Regions from separate parts of the Homo sapiens genome. Here regions 1, 2 and 4 are each linked to region 3. Evidence: promoter capture Hi-C in human tissues and cell types (Jung and others, 2019). All regions are on one chromosome and are shown on one strand. The core of a region is centred on a gene start or on the middle of the fragment in contact, and the rest is flanking DNA. Distances in the headings are between cores, read along the strand shown. Region 1 holds the start of PHLDA3 (pleckstrin homology like domain family A member 3). Region 2 overlaps NAV1 (neuron navigator 1). Region 3 holds the start of LMOD1 (leiomodin 1). Region 4 overlaps NAV1 (neuron navigator 1).

Evidence for each region. Contacts are between HindIII fragments. The study calls those that stand out against the background at their distance.
Region 1: a contact is called between the fragment with the promoter of PHLDA3 here and the fragment with the promoter of LMOD1 in region 3, in 1 of the 25 tissues and cell types used here (IMR-90 fibroblasts).
Region 2: a fragment that was not itself captured here is called in contact with the fragment with the promoter of LMOD1 in region 3 in 1 of the 25 tissues and cell types used here (liver).
Region 4: a contact is called between a fragment that was not itself captured here and the fragment with the promoter of LMOD1 in region 3, in 1 of the 25 tissues and cell types used here (small bowel).

The regions. Positions count from the first base shown.
Region 1 is chr1:201,467,772-201,470,471 of GRCh38, forward strand. It overlaps PHLDA3 (pleckstrin homology like domain family A member 3), which reads right to left and starts at 1,417. Exons shown (of 2, transcript NM_012396.5): 1 at 570-1,417. The coding sequence starts at 1,015. The coding sequence ends at 632. RefSeq lists enhancers at 597-656, 727-866, 1,088-1,802, 1,317-1,436 and silencers at 937-1,246, 1,457-1,686. The HindIII fragment of the contact is 18,719 bases long and covers 1-2,700 here.
Region 2 is chr1:201,571,535-201,574,234 of GRCh38, forward strand. The region is part of intron 1 of NAV1 (neuron navigator 1); the gene reads left to right. Among named protein-coding and RNA genes, the nearest start is that of NAV1, 34 kb to the left of the region's middle. The HindIII fragment of the contact is 8,445 bases long and covers 1-2,700 here.
Region 3 is chr1:201,945,181-201,948,017 of GRCh38, forward strand. LMOD1 (leiomodin 1) reads right to left here and starts at 1,368. Exons shown (of 3, transcript NM_012134.3): 1 at 900-1,368. The coding sequence starts at 1,160. The HindIII fragment of the contact is 9,839 bases long and covers 1-2,837 here.
Region 4 is chr1:201,597,395-201,600,094 of GRCh38, forward strand. The region is part of intron 2 of NAV1 (neuron navigator 1); the gene reads left to right. LOC124904482 (a long non-coding RNA gene) reads right to left here. Exons shown (of 2, transcript XR_007066789.1): 2 at 2,452-2,700. Among named protein-coding and RNA genes, the nearest start is that of NAV1, 60 kb to the left of the region's middle. The HindIII fragment of the contact is 8,971 bases long and covers 1-2,700 here.

The sequences.
Region 1 (2,700 bases), core at 167-2,666, 480 kb before region 3:
GCCGGACTCCTTGGCTCTATTTGCAACCCTTGATGGTGCCTTCGCCATCTGGGAGATACTGTCTTTCTACATCAATTCAATGCTCAAACTTTATGACAAGCATTCAACCTAGAGGGAAAGAGGGTCGGCCTCCACGATCCGCGTCCCCACCCTCGGTTGTCCTCAGCTGCCAGAAAGCCGAAGTCCAGGAGCCCTGCTCTGCGTGGAAAGCAGAGGCCCACAGCCTGGGGCAATGTGCAGGCCAACCTCCCTCTACTTCCTTCCACCTGAGTCAGGGCTGAACCAACTTGAAAGAAGGCTCATCTCACCCAGGTATCCCCCTCCCAGGGCTTCCATCTTCCTCTCACACACCTGGATCACATTCTGGACCGGCCAACCTGGTGCCTCAGGGGAAAGTCCGGATCTGCTGGGTTGGCCACTGGCCCAAGCCTCCCATGCCCTCAGTTGGCCCCAGGAACCTCCCCCCTAAGATGTCCGGCTCTGAAGTAGAATGCTAGTCCTCATTCTCTCTGTAGGGGAAAGAGAAGGGAGGGAAGGAGAGAAGAGGGCCCAGTCCCCCGGGGGCTTACCTGCCTTGACCTCAGCACTGAGGTGGTGGGTAGCATGAAGGAAAGATGGTGCGCCCGGTGGTTTAGGACACGAGGGTCCCGGTCCCGAGGCTCTGCCGGGCCCGCACTGTCTGGATGGCCTGCTGGTTCTTGAACTTGACCAGGCCTAGGGTGATCTGGGCGTTCCAGCCGGGATCTTCCAGGGGGCAGCGGAAGTCGATCTCGCCGCCCCCTTCGGTCACCAGCGTGAAGTAGATGTGGCGCCCGGTGCTCTCCACGCACTCCACGGCCTTGATGCGGGCGAAGCTGAGCTCCTTGGGCCGGCCGCCCGTGCCCTTGGCCTCGAAGAGCTGCAGCCCGCGTTCGGTGAGGACGCAGCGCTTCCGCTTCCACAGCTGCAGCAGCCCGCCGCTGCGCTTCTCCAGCACGCCCTCCTTGAGCACGGTAGCCGTCGCCGCCGCCGTCATGGGCGCCCCGAGGTTCGCGGAAAGCTCCAGGCTGCGGCGGGCGCGGCGCCCCTCTCGGCCCCGCAGCGCAGGATTCTGGCGCCCCGGGCTGGCAGGCCGTGCGCGCTGCCCACCTGCGCCCTGACTGCTCCGCGCACCCACACCGCGGCCCTCAGCACCCGGCTGCCGGTGAGGTGGTGTCGGTGCCCCCAGCGCGCTCCGCGCCCACCGCCCCGCTTCAGCCGGCACCCGCTCCTCCGCTCTACCCCAGCTGGCCCAGCCCGACCCGCCTCTGCCAGATGCCTCCGCGCCTCCCTAGGCCGTGAGCCCCACCGCCCGCCCGTTCTCTTGCTCCCCTGGGCTCTGTCTGCGCGCTGGGCGGCAGCTCGCGGGATGTGCCCTTACATGTTCCGCCGCTCGCCTCCTGCGCCGCCCGCCCGCAGCGCATTCCTACCCTGGCCGGCCCTCCCCTCCGCGCCGCGCACCAGCTCCGGCAGGGCCCCGGGGGCGGGGCCGCAGCGGGGGCTCAGTCACTCACTGGAGGCGCAGGGCGCGGGGCGGGGAGGGCCGGGACTGAGAGGGGGCTGCTTACTCAACAGCCCAAGCCTTCTGGCTGCCGTCTGCCGCTTCTCGGAACCGCAGCTCCCCCAGGCCTTGAATGAAGGGGGAGATGGCGGGGAAGGGAGGGGGAAGGCGCATCTCCTCGATTGGAGAGCGCGCTGCTAGCAAGGGGGTGGGCTTGCTTGGCGAACGCGCAGTGGCACCAGTTGCATGTTAGGCGTCAGACAGCTGCTGGTTACTTGGCACGCCATGGGGCCCCCAGCCTCTGCATCAAGCCCATGTTGGGTTCCTCCTCCATCGCCCGATTTCTCTGTGCAGCACCCAAGAGAGGCTGTCCATCGCTGCCTCTGCTTGGACAGTTCACCTGCTCCTACTCCTACCCCCATGCATTGCGCGGGGAGGCCTGTAGAGAGTAGCCAGTGCCAACAAAGGAGAGCTGAGGCTTGAGGTCATTCATGCCCTCCTCGTAGTGGGGGAGGAGGGACCCCCTCCGTGACCTGGGGATGCCACTGTCTGCAGTCCTCTCCACCGCACACTTGCAGGCGCCGACGCTGGACCGATGGCACAGCCAGTCCCAGGTGTAAGCGCAGCTCCAACCTTGCTCCTTCCGCTCCGCAGATTCTGTCCTCCCTCGGCCTTCCCCAAGAATGGACTTCTCCCGCATACAGAGCTGGAGGGGAACGCAGAGGGAGAGGTCTCTTTCTGTTCTGGCTAGAATATTGTGTAAACACAAGAGCTTTGCAGAGTTGAGTTCAAACCTCTTCTCCCTTGTTGGCTGTGTCCTGCCCACCTGGGGCAACTTTACTGACCTCCGTCAATTTCCTCATCTGTCGAATAGGAGGATTAATTTATTCTCATCTCATGGGGTTGTCCTGATGAATAAGTTGGATAACATTTGTGAAAGACCCAAGACAGGACCTGACAACTCTTGAGTCTCAAGAAATGTTCTTCCTCCCCTCTCCCCACTCTTATTCCCTTTAGAGAATGATGGGGGCCCTGAGATTAAGCCAGGCACTGGAAGAGGGCTCTCTTAGGTCCTCATTCTGTCCCCATCTTGATCAGTTCCTCCAGGCCCACAGTTTCTTAAAGGTCTATTCATCAACATGTTAATAATAGATTCTTACGGGAGTAATGATATATAATAA
Region 2 (2,700 bases), core at 95-2,594, 370 kb before region 3:
ATGATGAGATCACAGACAAAGGGGACCACAGAGTGAGCACTCTGGGGCTGTCCCTAGGTCTCTGGCTATGGGTGCCCAGCAGAACTGCAAGGGCCCCTTCAATTATCCACAGTCAAGAACTGGAAGCCTGGCTAGGCGTTCTGTTTTGCCTAGAATTGCTTATTATGACCTTTTTTTCTTTTGCAGCAAATTTCCCTTCCTAATTTGGTTCTGTTTATCCCATTATTAAAGTGGGATTACATAGGAATTTAACTGAAGTAAATGATCATCAATGTGTACAAAGATCTAGCTGCAAGAATGTTCTTGGCAAAATTGTTTATCACAGGGGAAGGGCACAAACAATTTGAGTGGGTAAAAGTACCACATATGTTAATGATACTCTGGTATAACCATCTATTAATAGCGGAAAGGGGAATACCTAATGTGCCTAATGCACCCATAAGGAATTATTAACACTTCACTCACTCAGTCATTCACTCATCTGATCGCTCATTCCACTCACAGTCACTGAGCACCTTCCAGACAAAAGGTCCTATATGAGAGAGTGTTTTACTCAGGTTCCTCAGAGATGAGGATGTGATCACAGATTAAGGGAGAAGTTATGGGATTCATCATGGGATAGCGAGGAAACTGGGCAGCGGGGTTTTTGGTCCTCCAGGCTGAGGCATGTGACAAGCATGGTGGGCTTCTGCAGGGGCCACAGCATCTCCAGGCTACAGAACCCTGGATCCTAAGCTGGCTTCCATAGTTCCCTGAGAGCAGCATTGTGTGGTAGGCCAAGTTCAAGATTTGGAGTCAGGAGACTTGGATTCTAATTTCTTTTCTTTCTTTCTTTCTTTTTTTTTTTTTTTTGAGACAGAGTCTTGCTCTGTCACCCAGGCTGGAGTGCAGTGGTGCAATCTTGGCTCACTGCAACCTCCACCTCCCCGGTTCAAGCAATTCTTCTGCCTCAGCCTCCCGAGTAGCTGGGACTACAGGCACGCACCACCATGCCCGGCTAATTTTTGTATTTTTAGGAGAGACGGGGGTTTCACCATATTGGCCAGGCTGGTCTCAAACTCCTGACCTCATGATCCACCCGCCTCAGCCTCCCAAAGTGCTGGGATTACAGGCGTGAGCCACCGCGCCTGGCCAGATTCTAATTTCTTTTAGCCTTTATCACCATCAATGAAATGGGGATAGGAATGACTGTCTTATACCTTACCAGCAAGTCATCACAAGACTCAAAGGAGGCAGCTAAGTGGCCTGCTCTAAACTGTGCAGGTGTTGACAACAGAGATTAATCCTCATTGCTCAAGTAGATGCCCTGGGGTAGGGGGTGGTTTCCAGCTGTGCTCTTCTTGGGAATTACTTTTCTTTCTGTCCCCATAGCCATCTCCTCCCATGCTGTCCAACCCTGCTCCTTCCTACTCCATCTTGCCCCTGCCCATCTCACCTTCTAGAAGCCTGAGCCCAGCAGCCCAAGGTCAGCTCCATCTGAAACTAGTGTCATCACTGGAAAGGTTGCATGGAAGAGCCCTCCTTCAAAAGTAAATAATCAAACTTTGTTTAAAGGCCTGACAATGTTCATTTGTGTTGATCAAGCTCAGACTGAATTATGCATAGGCACATGGCCTGTGCCTGAGGAATTTACCATGTAGGCCAGACACCCTGACTGATTCAAAGGATGTACAGACAGCAGGACATCAAGTCGAGGCAGGCCACAGGGAGCTGACCCTGGAGTGCTGATTTCACAGAACGTGGCTGCTAAGTCCAGATAATGTTTCATCTCCTGATATGTGTGTGTGTATGCGTGTGTGTGTGTGTGCACACCTGTACCGTATTCACACTTTTTCAAGGGGAAAGAAGAAAGGAAGGAAGGAAGGGAGGGGAATAAAAACAAATCTTTTTGAAGTGGAGCCATGTGACCCCAGGTAAACCCTCAGGGAGCCCCTGCCCTGCCCTGCCTCTGCACCAGTTCTTCCTGACAGAGAGCTTTGTCCCCTCCCCTACATGTCTGTCACACACCCCCTCCCTGCCTCCTGTTTTGCAGTCAGGACCCTCCATCATGACAGAGGGAGGCCCAAATTGTCTTCTGCTCCAGGCCTGCCTGCTGTACCTATCTCCCAGGGATCTTGTGATGATTAAGAGAGCTAATACATGAAAAATATATAAAATGGTGCCAGGTACCTAGTAAACACTCAACAAATATTATCTATTACTAATTGGTTTGGGGTCATGGACCCTTTTTGGGAATCTGATGAAAGCTGTGGGCATTGTGTCCAAAAAATGCATTACATTCAGCTCAGCGGGTGCCTGGACCCCAAGTTAAGAATGCCTAGTCCCAACCTGGGCAACATAGAAAGGTCCCATCTCTAAAACAATTTTAAAAATTAGCCAGGCACGGTGGCACGTGCCTGTAGTCCCAGCTACTTGGGAGGTTGAGGTGGGAGGATCGCTTGAGCCCACGAGTTTGAGGCTACAGTGAGCTATGATAGTGGCGGCACTGCACTCTAGCCTGGACATCAGAGTGCAGCCCTGTCTCTAAGAAAAAAAAAAAAGAACGAGTCTAAATAAACTGAAGAGTTCTATTTATAAGCATTTACTGAGCACTCTTCAGTGTAGAGGACTGGGCTGGGTACAAGGGAGAAAACAAGAAGTGACCTCAGCCTCAGGACACTCACCATGTAGTAAGGGAGAAAAGTAATACACAACTTTCTA
Region 3 (2,837 bases), core at 118-2,617:
AAGAAAACTCACATACCAATGCAATAGTGACAAAAAAAAAATTCCTCCATGCCAACTCAGGAAAACAGAAAGCAAGTTGTGCTTAAGCCCATTGTAGGTGTGGGCAGATGCTTCCAAAACCGTCACCCCTTTTCCCTCCTCTATGACTATCTTCAACCCCCAGCAAAGCGGCCTCGCCAGCTGCTAAAGGGTTAATTACCAAAAAGAGGGCATGCTCCCTCCAGAGGCTCCTCTGGAGAGTGCAAAAACAAAACAAAACCAAAAACCAACTAACCACAACAAAAAACATCTTCCCTGGGAATAAATTTGAAGCTTATCAGGTCTTTAAGCCACATTTCCCAGCCCATAGACTCCTGGTCCCTGTCTCCCTTTGCTTTGGGAAACTCATTTACCCCCAAGCCTCCTGAAATGATCCATGTGCCGTGAGATGCCCATAGGGTTGGGGACTTGAAAATGAGTTATTCTCCCACAAAAAATGGCTTAGCTTTGTCTTTTTGGGTGGCTGACAGGAGACATAAAGTATCACTCTCTCTTTTTACCCCTCCTCACAATAGGATGGAATGAGTGTGGAGAAAAACAAAGGTATTGTGGGACCAGGATGGAGTCAACTTGACAATGGACTCTTCAAGGACACCTTCCAGCTCCCATTCTACTAGTAGCTCTATTTGATTTTGTGGGATGTTGTGTTCCTCCAACATATCCGACTTCTGCTTATAAAACAGAAATTAGGAGTAAGAGATTCGCACCGCTAGTTCAGTGGATAATCATCAGTTCTGAAGCATTAAAATCCTTTGCCAACAAGAACGTTTCTTCTAAGGAAGGAAGCATCCTAATCATGAAGCCAGGGTCTCCAGCCCTCCCCTGTCTCCCTCCTCCCCTCCAGGGCTGTGCTCACTCACATCCATGGACATCTCCCTCTGCATAAGTTTCTTGGTCTCCTTTTCACAGAAGTTGAGCATGGCCTCCCGGTTGTACACACCCGTGGACTGTTTCTCCGTCTGGTTTCTCTGCCGCAGCCCCACGGGAACACTCCCGTCTGGGTCCACCACGTCCAGCTCCTTCTCCAGCTCCTCCATCTCCTCGGGAGACAGGGTCTCCAGCAGGCTGTCGATGTCGGGGTCTTCACTCACCTGCCGGCGATATTTGGCTACTCTAGACATCTTGGCAAAATGGGCTGTGGCTGCCAGGGGCTATCAGAGTCCTGGTGGGCAGGGAAGGGAGAGGGGTGAGCTGATCTGGATGCAGCGAGTGGGCTGAGGAGCAAACCTCCTGCTGGTCGAGGACTGCAGCTCCTTGGCCCTTCTGTGCTACAGGTGCTGAAGTGTTCACTGGACGCAGCAGCCTCCCTGAAGCCCAGGGCTAGTGGACCCCGGCTGGTCTAATCAGCGGCCAATAAGACCCGACAACTGCCAGGCCCGGAGAGGAGAAGCCAATCCCCAAGCTGGGGGCGGGCCTACCTCGCTGTCAGAGCTGTTTGAAACTTGAGGACATTCCAGGGAATCTTGGAGCGCTGCGTGACCAAATTTAGTACAGAGCAGTTTAGCCTTTTAAAGACAAGGGGCCACGCAATGAGAAAAAGATACAAAAATGCGTAGGCTGGCAGAAGCAGATCACAGCCACGGAGAGCCAGACAAGCAGGGACGAGGCCATGAGGGCCGGTGAACTCGCCAGCCCGGGGCACGTTCAAGAGCGTATTTTACTACTCCATCACCGGGTGGACGTATCACTGTGGTCAATGTGTGGTTCATGGACTTCCTTCTACAGTATTTGGTAATGTGCTGGGGGGCTCCCAGGTGTATACAGCTCCAGGAAAGTCTAGATTCAAGATGAGGAGCTGTTACTCCTAACCCCCTGCCTACCCATTTTCTTTCTACCCAGGTTCTGCCAAGGAGGACCTGAAGGCTGAGCATCAGAGGCTCCAGGATCCTTTGGCCACTTCTTAAGAGAGAGACAGGAGACAGAAAGACAAACTTAGAGATAGAGATAGCTAGGCAGGAGAGGGAGAGAGAGAGAGAGAGAGAGAGAGAGAGAGAGAGAGAGAGAGAATAAATCCTTACTGTGTACCAAAACTGAAAACTGGCAGGCTGTTTGGGAAAGAGAGAAGGATCTGCAGAAGTCGGGAAACTCTTAAAGGGCTGTCACTTTCCATGAAGTTCCAAGGCTCTTGGGAAGAGGGTTCAAACCTCCCCCTGTTGTCATCTGTTTCTTCCTCTGCCGGGCATCTGTAGACAGACCTCCTTTGGGAGCACAGAGGCAGGTCACCACCCACATATAAATCCAGAGCACGATTTAGTATGTCTTCAGGGAAACAGAATTCTGGGCCGTCGGGAGAGATACGATTGCAACAGGTCTGGCATGTTTCATAGAAGGGCTTTCCACTGCTCATCCATCATGCTGCCCTGCACAAGTCACAGAGACATTCAATCCCCTGCCCCCCTTCCTCCTGCCACAAAATCCCTTCTAGAAGCCCTGGTGTAACCCATCAGGGTAGATGCTTCGATCTTTCCTGGCATCTTTCCATCCTAAGCCAGAGAGAGACAGTCACTTGATCAGCATTTGCTGAGTCCAGGGATCGTCTGGGACTAAAACTTGGCCGTGCCATTTAATGTCCACTAGTCCAACTTTAGGTTAAGGCTGAAGAGGGGAATGGTGTCCACTGGGGGGACTGAAGGGCAGAAGGAAGGCAGGCAGACTTGATAGGAAGAGTGGAAGAAGACTTTAGGGAAACCTGGGGGTTGTCATTTTAAGAGTCAGTAGCCAACTTATTGGTCAAACCGTAGGTATATATTTATTGAGTGATTTATCAAGTGCCTATTATATATCAGGCATTGTTCTAA
Region 4 (2,700 bases), core at 93-2,592, 350 kb before region 3:
CCTCCGGCCTCACTCTGAAGACAGCTAAGCTGTCTTCCTGGGGGCTTCCTGGTCAAGGCTCACTGTGCAAACTACAGACTATCACATAATCTCCTAACATGCCCCTGGGGCCCGCTGGTTAAAGCCTGAGAAGAGGATCTGCAAAGATCCCTTCCCACAGGCTGCAGAGCCCGTGCTCCACCGGGCTGAGGGCCAAGCTGGGAGTCCATAAGGACCCCTTCCCACAGGCTGCAGAGCCCCTGCTCCACCAGGCTGAGGGCCAAGCTGGGAGGACCTGAGGCACAGGAGCCGGGTTTCCTCCCTCACACTCCTGCGGAAGCTCAGCCCCCATGCTCCACCTGCTTCCTGTTCCGCGGGGAAGATTTCCTGGTCTGTTTCCTTGGCAGCTGTGTCTCATTTCCTCCTGCTGTGCCCGTGATGTCCTGGCCCAGTGTGACGAGGTGAGGCAGGCCCCTCCCCTGTGAGGTGTGCCATCTCCTGCCCAACTCCATTGCCCCAGATTCCAGAGAGCAGAGTCGGGGAAGTAGGCCCCACCCACCTTGGCCAGGGAGCAAGGGGAGGGAGTTCAGCTGCAGGATGCCTGGGCGTCAAGATGTCGTCAATGCCTCCAATATATACTGAGTGTCTACTACGTGCCAGGCATGATACCAGGCGCCAGGTGGCCAAAGCTAAGTGTTCTTCAAGAAGGCAGCTTTGGAGATGAGCCAGGTATACCTGGTGACTGAGCAGCCAACGCTATGTACACAGTGCTCTGGCAGCTCAGGGCCACTTACAGAAGGTCAGAGAGGCCTTCCTGGAAGGGATGACGTCTGAGCTGAGCTTGGAGGATGAATAGAAATTAGCTAAGGATAAGCTTGAAACCTCGTGGTGTGTGGATAAATGATAAACTATTCAGTAAAACTTGAAGATAAAGAATGAGGCAGGGCAGAGAGATGAGTCTGGGAAATAGGGAGGAATCAAGTGCTGGAGGATCTTAGAGGACCCCCAAGAAACTTGATTTTACCCCGTAGGAGGGTCGTTATCAGAACCACAATTCGATCAGGTCTTTTTGGCCTCAGGGTGGAAATGGTGTGAGTGGGCCATGCGGCGTGGGGCCGGGAGAACAAAGTGTGTGTCCTGGTGAGGAATCGGAACTGCCTGAGTTAGGGTGGTAAGACCAGAGAGCAAGGGCCAAGAAAACTGGCAGGACCACAGGACCAACTGGATGTGCTTCGCCTGGAATAGGAGCAGGGGGTGGAGCTGTGACCTTGGACAATCTCTCACACTCTCCAAACCTCAAGTTCATCATCTGTCAATTGCCTTCCCCCGACTAGAAGGAGCTGAGCTAATGGATGCAGTAAAAGCAGTGGGTGAGGGCAGTCATCGTGTTGCCATTTTAAAAAGGCTGTGAAACTACAAGCTGGTAGGGTCCCGGCCATGAGGAACCCGAGTCTTCAGTTTGGGGACAGAAGTAAGTGGGAGGGGGGTGTTATTGTTTTCTGTGGCTTACCCTGGAGCTGATAGGCTATACAGAGGCCATGACATCCCTCCCCCTGCCTCTGGACAGATGATCATTATCAGGTGGGGCATTGGCATCAGGAAGGAGCTGCCTGTCATTCAGAAAACATTTCTGGAGCCTCTAGTGGGGACAGGACTTTTGTTGGCCCCACTTAGCATATGGGGAGGCATAAGGCCAGATCTCTGCCTGCTGACAGTCACCCACCCTGACAGCCTCCCCACTTGGGCTTAGCTGGCCAGGTTGGGCCCCCCAGGAGGCAAAACCCTGCAAGGAGAACCCTCTGGGACAATGAGGTCACACTCTCTTTGGATCACGTGATTCAAGGTTCCCAGCTCCTCCTCATGTCATTTTCTTGTATCCAACCCCAATCTTTATGGCTAGAGGAGGACTTCCTTTTGCAGGGCCTGTTTTCAGTGGGAACAGAGAACAAAGGCATTATATCTGCAAGGTCCATGAGCCAGCCTCCCTTTGACCTTCACTCTGGAATCAGCCACCCTAGTCCATTAACCTCTCCTTGGACGGCCCCTTCCATCCCTTTTTCCCAGATGCAATTCCAGTTCCCTGTGCGCCTTGTAAGCACAGAGCACAAAATGAATTTGTTAAGGGTTTCATGAGGTCCTGACCCACAGGTGGTACAGAAGAATGGATTCTCTGGCAGTTCAGAGTCTGTGGCAGGCAGCCAGCGAAATCCAGGACTTAGGGCCCACTTCGATGCTCAAGTCATGGGAGCTTCTCTCCATGAATTTTGCGTCTGTCATGAGCCCCTCTTACTAGGAGGGGGAACCATCAGGCAGGCTTCCGAGCGCCTGCTCTGATTCTCTTCAGCGCCACTCACGCAATTGCTATAAAAGAGACCAGGCTCAGGGACAGGGGGAGGGAGGGATGGCGTCTGTGTCATAAACAAGGAGAGATATTTAGTGGTTTTTAAGCACCATAGGCATCTCCAGGGAGAGTTTGAGGGGGAAAAAACAACACTTTATTTGGAAACAATTCTGCTGAGATACAATCTTGTCTCAGCTTCACTTTCTCTGCTATTTATTATGAAGTGCTATGTGCTCAAAAATAGGGGCTGAGTTTTAAAGTCACAGGCCAAGCTCTGGGCTCTGAACCGAGGAGACAGCTTGGGCCCGGTTATCTGCCCTAGAGAGGAAGGGTCTTAAGCAAAGCGGCTCATCTGTGACTCGGGATACCTCATTCTTCCA